2 separate regions of the Homo sapiens genome follow, and region 1 is linked to region 2. The links are contacts of gene promoters, found by promoter capture Hi-C in blood cells and fetal thymus (Javierre and others, 2016). All regions are on one chromosome and are shown on one strand. Each heading gives the region's core, a stretch centred on a gene start or on the middle of the fragment in contact. The rest is flanking DNA. Distances are from core to core; before and after follow the strand shown. Region 1 has its middle 25 kb from the start of SMAD5. Region 2 holds the start of IL9 (interleukin 9).

Region 1 (5,811 bases), core at 2,146-4,645, 210 kb before region 2:
TAATTTTTACATTTTTTTGTAGACATGGGACCTTGCTTTGTTGCCCAGGTTGGTCATTCCCACTATTGACAAGGATACATATCCTCTGGAAACCCACAGAATAGGTCTAAGGTCTTCCATCATGAGTTAGCTTTTAAATATTTCAGGGTAGTTCACATGACTTGTATAAATCTTCTCACTGTTAAAAAGGCTCAGAGACAGTTCTGGGCCTCTCCCCAGAAACAACATTAAAATTGGAAGCAGATCTCAGATGAGGTGGGATTAAGGGAAGCAAAGACTTCTCACCCCATGCCACCTTTCCAACAGGTCCAGCTGACTTTACTGACTCAAAAGAGGCACACGTGCTGTTCCTCAGACTCAGGTTCTAGAGCAGTTGATAATGTCTTGCTAGGGAGGAGGACTCTGTCCTGGCCTGCTTATCTGCAAGAAATGATTCTATGGTCTGAATGTTTGTGTTCTTTGTAAATTCATATGTTGAAACCTAGCTCCCAGGGTAATGCGGAGGTAGGGCCTTTGGGAGTGAATAAGTCACGAGGGCAGAGCCCTCATGAAGGGGATTAGTGCCCTTATCAAAGAAGCCTGGGGCAGCTTGTTTGTCCTTCCATCACAGAAGGACACAGAAGATACCATCTGTGAGGCACCTCACCCGACACTGAATCTGCTGGCACATTGATCTTGAACTTGCCCAGCCTCTAGAACTGTGAGCAATAAATTCCTGTGTTTATAACTTACCCAGTCCAGGTTATTTTGTTACAGCAGCTGAATAGACTAAGACAGCAACACAGCATAAGAAGCTGTGAGCAGAGTCTGCTCAGCCATCTGGATCCCAGAATTGACCGTCCCCCAGTGTGTAATCCAATCTTTCTCATCCAGCTCACCCTGAATCAAAACTTGAAGAATTAGGGAGCCATAAAGGGAAACATGAAAGTTTTTTTGGGGCCTCTTGGAGGAAGGAAAGAATGGAAAATCATCTGTTCAGAGTTTCCCGCCTGGGTGATGGATGGAGCTATAAGGAAACCCTTCCCTGTTGGCTCAGACCCAGGTCTGCTCTCAAGGGGCAACCAGGCTTTGACCACTTCCTCTGCACCCCAGCTCCATGGGAAGAAAAAGAAGGGGGCTGCCCCTGCATTCAGGTGGCCAGACAACCACCCCTCTGCTCTGATGCTCAGAACTCCCCTATCAGTGAGCGACTCACAAGGTGCTGGTTGGTTGGTGTTTGCTGCCTTCAGTGGAAAACAGGCCCTTGAGCTGCCTATGTCCCAGGTTCTAGCAAAACTTGACCACTGCCTACTAAAGATCCCACAAAAGAGCCCAAATCAAACTGCCTCTCTGCATCTTTGAAACTGCGCTCTAACTCAGCTGTTGCACATATGCTGTTATAACCTCTGCTCTGGGATTGATTTATCCTCAGTTTTGCTTATGTATAGTTCCTTAATCATTCTGACTGTTTTAAAATTCAAAATTAATGTATCCTCATCATGAAGAAGTCAAGCCCTATAGAAATAAATAATGTAGAAAGTACAAGTTTCCTGTAACCTCCCTCCCCTCCCCCACCAAGATAACAACTGTTAATACTTCTCCATACATTCATTCAGATCTTGTTGCCATATGTATGCTATCAAAAAGGATTTTAGTGCATTTAATGCTTTGCAATCTACTTTTTCCACTTAATATATATTTGGAGCCTTTCCATGCCACTGTAGACTACATACTAAATCACGTCCATTTTATAAAAGCTCCTACAAAAGAGTTTGCACCACCTTGCTTTTTTTGTTGCTGTTATAAACCTGATGTAGCAAGCATCCTTGCATCTTTGTGCAGTTGGATGAGTACCTGGGTTGTTTCCAGTTGTCTCCTATTACTGGCATGCTGTAATAAACAGGCTTGTGCCTATGCCTCTGTGCATGCATGGGCATGTTTCTTCTGAAGAACTGAGGTTTTGAAGTAAAACCTGAGTTAAAGAGTAGGTAAATCTTTAGTTTTGAAAAATACTGCCAAATTGTGCTCTAAAAAGGTTGTGCCAGTTTTCACTCCTACTGGCAGCGTGTGAATTAAGCAGTTGTGCTTTAATATTGCCTTTGGCTTTTACTGAAGGACATGCCAAGACACAGCCCCGCAGACTCATTCCTGCACTTGCTGTGGGACTTATGCTCAGCACAGTATGGTTGACATCCCTTAGGACCTGCCAGAAAGTCCCACTTGAGGTTGCTTATGAACAATGGCATGATCTAAGGGGACTTTCTCAGAAGGACATTCTGAGATACTCTAAGAGACAAGCAGAGGCAGGAGAAGTGGGCAGATAGATACCCAGGAAGACCCTTGTGTGAAGTATCCTCTGTCTTATCCAAGGAGCATATTATTTTTTTCTTGGTGGCTGTTCCACATCTCTCATCCAACAAACACACACATGCACAATCACACTTCCCAGGTTCTTGTGCTCTGGATTCCATCAGTGGTTCAAATAAAAGGCTCCCTGGAGATTCCATGACACTGCTCCATGGCCCAGCAGGTGGACAAGACTGCAATGAGTTCACAGTGTAGTGTAATTTTCTGGTCTTGGAAAGACATGGCATCTCAATTGGTTAGATCTCAGCTGTGTTGTGAATCATTTTGTCTTTAAAACCATCTACTGCTCTGTCTACTCAGCCTAGCCCTCTTTGTATGATGCAGGACTACTGTGGGCAGAGTGGATATTTGACCCATGTGGCCAGAAATGATTAGAAAATGAAGCAAAGTGCATAGAAACCCAAACTGGGCATCTGACATAAGCTTGGCTTAGTCATTACAAGCTGAGGCTGTCCTGAAAATAATAACCCATAATCAATATTAGTTAACATTTATTCAGGGCTTACCATATGTGCTAAACATCAGTGTTTACCTTTCCAAATGCTTTGTTTGTATGTTTATACACACACACACACACACACACACACACACACACACACACTATTTTATCAAATTCCCTCATCAATCTCGTGAGGTATGCATTAGTTTCTGAGTCTTATCTGAGTTAACCAGGTAGTCTGACCCCTCAGTTCACTCTGTTGGGATTTTCTATTTTCACAACACATCTCTTATTTTACAGAGCATTCCAAATATGTCATCTCATTTGATGTTCAGATAAAGAAATGCTGGGAGGCTGGGAGGACAGGTATTGTGACAGGTGGGGAAACTAAGGTATGGTGGCATGCCTTGCCTCAGGCCCCACCCCACAGGAGTGATAGAGCTGGAATGTGAAGCAAGTCCTTTGACTTTGGGGCTTCTCACATGACTCTCCAGTTGGGTGTCCATCGTGGGTGTGTGTCCTTAGTCTCAGGTAAGTCCTTAAAGCACAGTTTTCTCAAGACTTGAAGGTCTGGGTGCTGGGGCCATCACAGGTGGCCCCCAGCCAGGTGACAGGACCTGTAGACAGGCTCAGTCCTTGCTGGTGGCTTGGTATTCCTCGGGCAATTATTTTCAGAAGCAAATTGACATTTTGGTTGTCTAGAAAGCCTGGCTCTCACCTGCTGCCCAGGAATTGAACTGCTCATTGGCCCATGGGTTTATGAATGCCAGCTGCTTTTTCTCATTACCGCTTTCAATTAACTCATTGTTCTGAGCCCGAAGGTAACAGACTCCCCTTGGGATTCATTTGCATTAAGTCTGGGCCCTGGTTTCTTTTCCTTTTTTTTTCCTTCCTTTTTTTTAGAATAAAAATTCAAGTGTTGCGAAGTAAACAATTAGAAACTTCAGGGCTGGAGCCCCTGGTTGTGGGCCTGGGACAGAAAAGGCAAATGTTTTCCACCATGACCCTGCCAGGATGAGGTGCCCATGCTACCCAGGAGAATTGAACACATCCTTTAAGCATCAGATTGGTCTTTCTTGTTGGCGGCCGAGGCTGCAGGACAAAGATTCAGGTGTGTAGGAAGGCAAGATGTCATAAGACTTGCTGAAGAGGGCACCCTCCTGTTCTGTTGGGACCCACTGCTTAAGGAACATGTGTATAGTCTCCCATTACAGAAGGAAGAGAACTAAAGCTTATTGAACTTCTACTATATGCTAAGTGTGATAGCCCTCATTTCACATCACCCCCAGGGCAATTGTATCCCTAAGAACTATTATTCCCCCATGCCTTTTTTCTTTTTTGTAGAGACAGGGCCTCACTCTGTCACCCAGGCTGGAGTGCAGTGGTATGATCATAACTCACTGTAACCTCAAACTCCTGGGCTCAAGTGATCCTCCCACCTCAGCCTCCTGAGTATCTGTGATTACAGGCACATCCCACCACACCTGGTTAATTTAAAAAAAATTATTTTTGTAGAAATGGGGTCTCACTCTGTTGCCCAGGCTGGTCTCAAACTCCTAGGCTCAAGTGATCCTCGCACCTCAGCCTCTCAAAGTATTGGGCTTACAGGACTGAGCTACTGTACCTGGCCCTATTATTCTCACTTCATAGGTGAGGAAACTGGGGCACAGAGAGGGGCAGAAACTTGCCCCAAGCTACACATCTGGGATTAGTGGAATGATGATTTACACCAGTGAAGACAGAGGTAAGCAGGGAAAGTCAGCCCGGGCAAGGAAGGGGATAAGGTAATACAGGACTTTGTGCGATTGAGTGATAATTCCTTAAAATTTCAAGGCTTCCACTGACTCCCCACCTGTTTTTCATTCATTTCTTTGAGAAACACTTCCTCTGTACTGCCTATAGATGGTCAACAAGTGTTGACTTGACAACGGAGATGTTTATTGGTAGGTTTCTTATGTTAAAAAAAAAAGGCTCATGCTTCTCCCCTTTGGGGTGTGTATCAGATGGCTGGTGGACGCAGGAAAAAAGCCCCATCACTGCTGCTGCTTCATGGCCGAGAGCCGCAGATTAGAGTGGATTCCTGAGATGGGGGACCAGCCAACCATCCCAAGAGCAGGAAGACAGGAGGCACAGAGAGTCGGCAGATCAAGCCCAGGTCCGTGACCACCATCCTTCTCCAGAAATGTCTCAGGGTAGATATAAGCAGTGCCAGGGGCAGGCCCTTGAGCTGGGACACCCCACTCTGCCATCAAGCAAGGGACCTGGGGCAAGTCCTTCCCACTCAGGTAGGACCTCAGTTTCTACACCTGGAAAGTGAAGAAACTGAATGAGGTCTAAGGTCTGCCCCAGTCCCAAAGGTCTCTGCTGTGTCAAAGAAGATCTGGGTCTCTCATTATTCCTGAAGTTGAGAAAGCTACTTTACCTATTATTTTATCATACTCAAACACTTTGATGGTAACAGAATCTGTGTTTTTTTCCCTTGGTGTGTTATTTTAAGTTATTAACTTCTTTTCATTATCTTTATCTTTGATCAAAGCCACCTATTCTTCATTGGATCTGAATTTACTGATAGACCAAATGAATCTAAAAGCTGAATTGCTACCCTCTCACCCCCATTCCCTCCGACATCCACCGACAACCAATTTGCTGGGTAGAGCATATAAATACTATGCACGTTTGCGGCACTTTGCAGGCTACCTTTTGTTTCTCTTCTGGAGGGTTTTCATGCATCTGAGCTAAAGGAGACAGAGCGTGAAGAAGCTGAAAGATCTAACAGAGAGGAAAGGCCGGAAGTTTACAGGGAAGATGGCTGATCCTTGCCAATGGGGTGAAAAAGTCAGACATCTGGTTGCTAGTTGTGTTTCCTGCTGAAATTCAGGGCAAAAGGTCCCCTACAAGTTTGGGTCTGGGACGGAGGAAAAGAAAGGGAGTAGGAGGGTAGTTGTGAGACAGGAATCCTGCAGCCGGGGAAGGGGGAAGTGACAGGCAAAGACAACTGTTCTATGTGCTTTCAACTCAAATCTTCT
Region 2 (5,739 bases), core at 1,505-4,004:
CAAAGCCCCCATCTGTACAACAGGAGGGGTGGGGTGGTGTTTTCCTCAATATGAAAGGCATACCCGATGGCAGGTGAAATGATTTCCACGGTTCACACAGAGAGCATCAGATAATATTGATTCACAGAATGAAAAGATGATTGCCTTTTCACATCTCTCTCAAGTCTTCCAATAATGTCAGGGAAGGAGGTTTAGTCTGATGGTAATGTATCTTTAAAATCTCTCCAAAGCATGCTAATTTTCTTTTCTTTTCTTTTTAAACAAGAACAGGTTTTATAACTCAGGATCCTCAGTAGGCAGTGATAGCTAGCTAGAATTTTAGTATCACTGTTGTACTATTATTATTACTTCTCTTGTTAGTCTCATGGTTTTATTTTTTATTGCCTTTCTGAATATTTGCTATTTATGAAAAATGTTAGTGTTGCCATTGCTGTAATTCTCTTGTCCATTTCTTCATAGTTATAATATTGCTGCTGAAGCTCCTGCCATCACACCCAAATTGGAATTAAGGGGAAAGACAGGGTTCAGCCACTTTTGTCTCCTATTACCAGGAAAGCAAAATAATTTTACATACTTTGCATTGATCGAAACATGCTGCATGGCTACATGTAGCAGCAAAAGAGGCTGAAAATGTGGGTGTTTGGCTGGATACATTGGTACCCCAAACTAATCAGAATTCTACCATCAAGAAAAAGGCATACATCCAGTGCTTTGTAACAAAAGTGTTTGCCACAGGCTGGGAATCCTTTGAGTTTTCTCTTCAGTGTCTGCAAAGAGCAGGGATGGAAGTCAGAGATGTGGGATGGCTTAAGGGAATTTAGCAAAACACCTGTTTCTCTTTACCTTGTTTACCACCAAGACACTCCCTTCCCCATAGTGCAGTGGAACACTGACGAGCCATCATCACTCCTAAGAAACAATACAAAATGAAAAAAAACAGTATTGCCATACTCTTACAGTGGAGGCGAGGAAATCTTATGAGTTTGTCCCCACTGGCTATTATAGTTCAGAGTGCTAAGCTAAAGAACCCCTCACCTTTTCAATCTACTGTGTAGAAGCTATATTTACTTACCTGCACATACCTCCAAATATGTATCCTAGAAATCAGATTTGAAATCTTATAAATCCCAGAAGTAGGAAGTTCGTATTTCAAGAACTACTTTTCAAATTAGTGTTTTAATTCAACAAGCATTTAGTGAGTGCCCACAGTTCCCCAGGCACCTCCTTAAGTGCTGAGAATATAGGGGTGAACTGGACCCATAAAGCCCTGGAGTATATATCCTGGTGGGAGAGGCAGATAAAAGATCTGCAGAAAAACAGGAGTTCAGGAGGATTAAGAGCTGAAATCAGGAGGCAGACTTCTGGGCTTGAATACAAATTCTGCGGCTTCCTGGCTTTGTGGTTTTGGGCAAATTACCTGCCTCTCTATGCCTCAGTTTCTCCATCTGTAAGATAATAAGAATAATTATAGTACTTCATAGAGTTACACTGAGATTGCTTTTTTGACTCATAGTGATTAAACACAGCCATACTGAAGGGCCAGGAAGCTAAGATGTAGACAGTGTTTTAAAGGGTAAAAAATGGTGATGACAAATTACTCCCCACCTCATTTGGCAGCCGAGTGTATTACATGGCTTAATGCATGTAAAGTACTTAGAAATGTTGCTAGTATGGTCAGGCCCAGTGGCTCATGCCTGTAATCCCAGAACTTTGGGAGGCCAAGGCGGGCGGATCACGAGGTCAGGAGTTCAAGACCAGCCTGGCCAACATAGTGAAACCTCGTCTCTACTAAAAATACAAAAAATTAGCCGGGCGTGGTGGAGGGTGCCTGTAATTCTAGCTACTCGGGAGGCTGAGGCAGGAGAATCGCTTGAACCCGGGAGGCAGAGGTTGCAGCGAACCTGGATTGTGCCACCGCACTCCAGCCTGGTGACAGAGGGAGACTCTGTCTCAAAAAAAAAAAAAAAAAAAAAAGAAATGTTACTAGTATGTAGTAAGTTCTCAGTAAATGTTAGCTACTATACTCTTTCAAGTGCTGGGTTTTTACTTGATGTCATACAGTGTTATATAAGATCTCCAAAGATACTGAGGAGTCCTCAAGGCCAATTTTAACAAGCATGGTTGCCGCATTCTTGTGCTTATAGTTGAACATTTCTTCTTTCAGACACTTGCACAAAGGGATACTTCTAAGATGCATTTGCATTAGGTGGCAAACTTCATCCTGGGTATGAAAAACATTGAGATTTGGGAATAAAGCATAGTAAGACTGAGGTTGCAATTACTAAAGGAAAACCCCAACAGAGATAAGTGAAGTTCTGCAATATCATGCACCCTCCCCCAACCCGCTCTGTCTCCCCAGGCCCCCCTTCGTTAGAACACCCATGACTGGCTATATTATATCAGCATTTCCCATAATGTAAAAAGGGAAAATACAGACCTGGGCGTTCATGGAAAGTATTCTAACTCTCACAACCAGAATCCCTGTCTTTGAATTTTTTTTCTTGGTTTTTAGATCTTTAACTTTTCCTTCAGCATTTCAGTACTCAACTTTTTGAAAATCATCTTTTCTGAGGAATGATATTTCCTGGCACAGCATCATCTCTGTCAAGTGACTCAGTTTGATTTTTTTGTTTGTTAGTATAAAGTGGCCCCAACTTACAGAGAAAAAGTGGGCTCTTGGTATCAGTTTGATGTCAGGGTTTTTCCGTGTTTGAGAGGGAGCTTTAAATACCACTCGATTTGAAGGTGTCTGCAAGCGAGCTCCAGTCCGCTGTCAAGATGCTTCTGGCCATGGTCCTTACCTCTGCCCTGCTCCTGTGCTCCGTGGCAGGCCAGGGGTGTCCAACCTTGGCGGGGATCCTGGACATCAACTTCCTCATCAACAAGATGCAGGTAGGCTGCAGGGGGAGCCCATGGGAAAGACAGCTACTGACAAAGTGAAATATGTATGAGGATGAAAAAACTCGGGGCTGACTAAAGGTTCTTATCTCTCTATCTACTTTAGGAAGATCCAGCTTCCAAGTGCCACTGCAGTGCTAATGTGAGTGAATGCTCTTTAAGAACTTTCCAAATTAATTTTAATTTTCACATCTGGAATCTTCACTCTGAAATTTCCCTTGCAGGTGACCAGTTGTCTCTGTTTGGGCATTCCCTCTGTAAGTATAGTGAAATAACATAATGTTGACCTTGGATTTTTTTGGTTTGTTTTTAAGTAAAAATAAGTTGCTTTATTTAATATTTAATGTTATACATTGTTGCTTAATTTAATTGTTACAGATTAGTATTCCCTGTTAAAACCACATTGTTACAAATTATTCCCTTTTAAAACTACGATCTTGAAATCCTATATTATGAACATTTCTTTGTATTTAATTAACTTTATGCCTCTTGAGAAGTTTGAACACTTTTCAACATTAAAAAAAGAATCCTGAATATCTTTTTAGATAGGTGGCCATGTGCACAATTAAATAAAACTGGAACTAAGGATATAATAATTGCTGTAGCTCATATCATATTGCTTTCTAACTCATTTACTGATAACTCTAGAGTTGTGAAACAATGTAAATAAAATGACAACTCCTTATCTTTCATCTGTCATGAATGATCTATGCGCTATACCTCCCCCTCCCTGCCTCCTCCCTTCCTCCCCACCACCCTGTTGTCTGTCTAGCTGATTAGAGTGACTGTTGGTTTGAATGCTGCCCTCTGGGCAGGTAGAGGATCTGAGGTTGTGAGTGGAAGGAGGGCTTCCAGAGGGCCACTGCCCACTACGGCAGGAAGGATGGGTGGCAGGAAAGTTCTGATTCCTAATTCAAACTCCTGGTTAGGGTGAGGAGGAGGCACTTCTCCAAGGTGCAGTGCTTTATTCTTTCTCATGCAAGGCCTGGGAGAATCTGAAGAATCTGAGCTTCTTGCCCTGGCTAGGGTAAGACATCGCACCCATCGCGGTCCATCCATTAGATGAGAAGAGGATAGAGTGCCTTCTGGGCAGGAACCAGGCAGACAGCACAGCCCCTGTCCCTTGGAGTACCGTCCATGTTTTTAGCTGCTGCTGAAATACCAGCTGCATTCAATTGTCACATCCCATTAGCTGGTGTGAAAAGGCTTTTCCTCACTCTGCACTTTCAGACTTACAAGCCTTGAAGCCGGGAAGCACCCGTTGAAAAGAACATTCAGAGCCGACTATTTCAGGGCCCAGAGCCCTCATGTTTCCTGGATGTAACATACAGGAAGTCTCCTCCAGGGGATGTCACTGTGGAAAAATGGCATCCCCTTTAAATACGGGAGATCACTTCCTACATTGGCAAGGGACCTGTCTAAAAATAATGCAAGTTTGAGTAATGGTGATTAAATAAAAATCATCTCTATTATATTGCTCTTTGTGATATATTTCCAAAGCTGTCCTCAGAATATTTCTTTGAATAAATCCTTACTATTTACCAGGACAACTGCACCAGACCATGCTTCAGTGAGAGACTGTCTCAGATGACCAATACCACCATGCAAACAAGATACCCACTGATTTTCAGTCGGGTGAAAAAATCAGTTGAAGTACTAAAGAACAACAAGTGTCCAGTAAGTTTGTTTTCATATGTGATATGTTCCTGTTGGTGATTTCTATGTGAATGGTGATGCCAACCCTGTTTGAACACAAAAGGATGATAAAGTTGGAATTGGTAGTTCAAGGTTGATAAAAGACATCTAAGAATTTTAATCAGAAGTAATATAATTAAAGTGAGATCCACTGAAACAATAGAATTAAAGTGAGATAGATCATTGTTCCTGACGAGGCCATTTACTTCTCTCTACTATGGAATAATGAAAGAATCCTTTCTGAGTGTAATTAGAAGCTACAATCTAGAGAATCAGGGATGTAGCTCACATAATACTAAATTATCCTAGAGATTCAATGTACTAACTGAATGGATGTTGTTAACAGGGATTTTTTTTTCCTGTTGGTTAAGGAGGTTTTGTTTTGTTTTGGAGACAGAGTCTTGCTCTGTTGCCCAGGCTGGAGTGCAGTGGTGCCATCTGAGCTCACTGCAGCCTCTGCCTCCCGGGTTCAAGTGATTATCCTGCCTCAGCCTCCCGAGTAGCTGGCATTACAGGTGCGTGCCACCATGCCTGGCTAATTTTTGTATTTTTAATAGAGATGGGGTTTCACCATGTTGGCCAGGTTGCTCTCCAACTCCTGAACTCAAGTGATTTGCCCGCCTTGACCTCCCAAAGTGCTGGGATGACAGGTGTGAGCCACCATGCCTGGCCTGCATTAAGGAGGTATTTAAAGGGCAATGCACCCAGGTCAAGGTGGAAGCTTGCTACTCATCCTGAATGCCCATCCACACATTCTTTTCTTCAGCATATACCCTAGTCCCTGACAGCAGACTGGGATGGCAAGTTGGGTAGAGGTGACCTCCCTCTGTTTTTTGGGTATTAGCATCTCCACACAAGATCCTAGAAGGCTGAAAGCCCTGAGCTCAGCTGTTTAGCTGCATGCGTTTCTACCATCAATGGCATCTAGTTCTAAGTGCTTAATATATGCTGTCTCACTGAATAAATACATACCTTAGGGACAATTATTCAATTTATTACTCTCAGTGAGGTTAACTAATTTGCCTAAGGCTGCATATTTGATAAGTGGCAGAGCTGAGATTTGAACTCAGGCCTATATGACCTCAGAGCCCCACTCTTAGCCATTGTACTGTCAAATGACCTTGGAAAGACAACCTAAAAGGATAA

What was found. Contacts are between HindIII fragments. The CHiCAGO score rates a contact against its expected background, and 5 or more counts as called.
Region 1: a fragment that was not itself captured here is called in contact with the fragment with the promoter of IL9 in region 2 in 4 of 17 cell types (M1 macrophages, M0 macrophages, M2 macrophages and 1 more); the score reaches 8.5 in M1 macrophages.

Annotation. Positions count from the first base shown.
Region 1 is chr5:136,104,614-136,110,424 of GRCh38, reverse strand. No RefSeq gene overlaps it. Among named protein-coding and RNA genes, the nearest start is that of SMAD5, 25 kb to the left of the region's middle. The HindIII fragment of the contact is 1,247 bases long and covers 2,772-4,018 here.
Region 2 is chr5:135,892,856-135,898,594 of GRCh38, reverse strand. IL9 (interleukin 9) reads left to right here and starts at 2,754. Exons shown (of 5, transcript NM_000590.2): 1 at 2,754-2,892; 2 at 3,005-3,040; 3 at 3,123-3,155; 4 at 4,444-4,575. The coding sequence starts at 2,779. LOC124901074 (a long non-coding RNA gene) reads right to left here. Exons shown (of 3, transcript XR_007058947.1): 3 at 2,447-2,897. The HindIII fragment of the contact is 6,689 bases long and covers 1-5,316 here.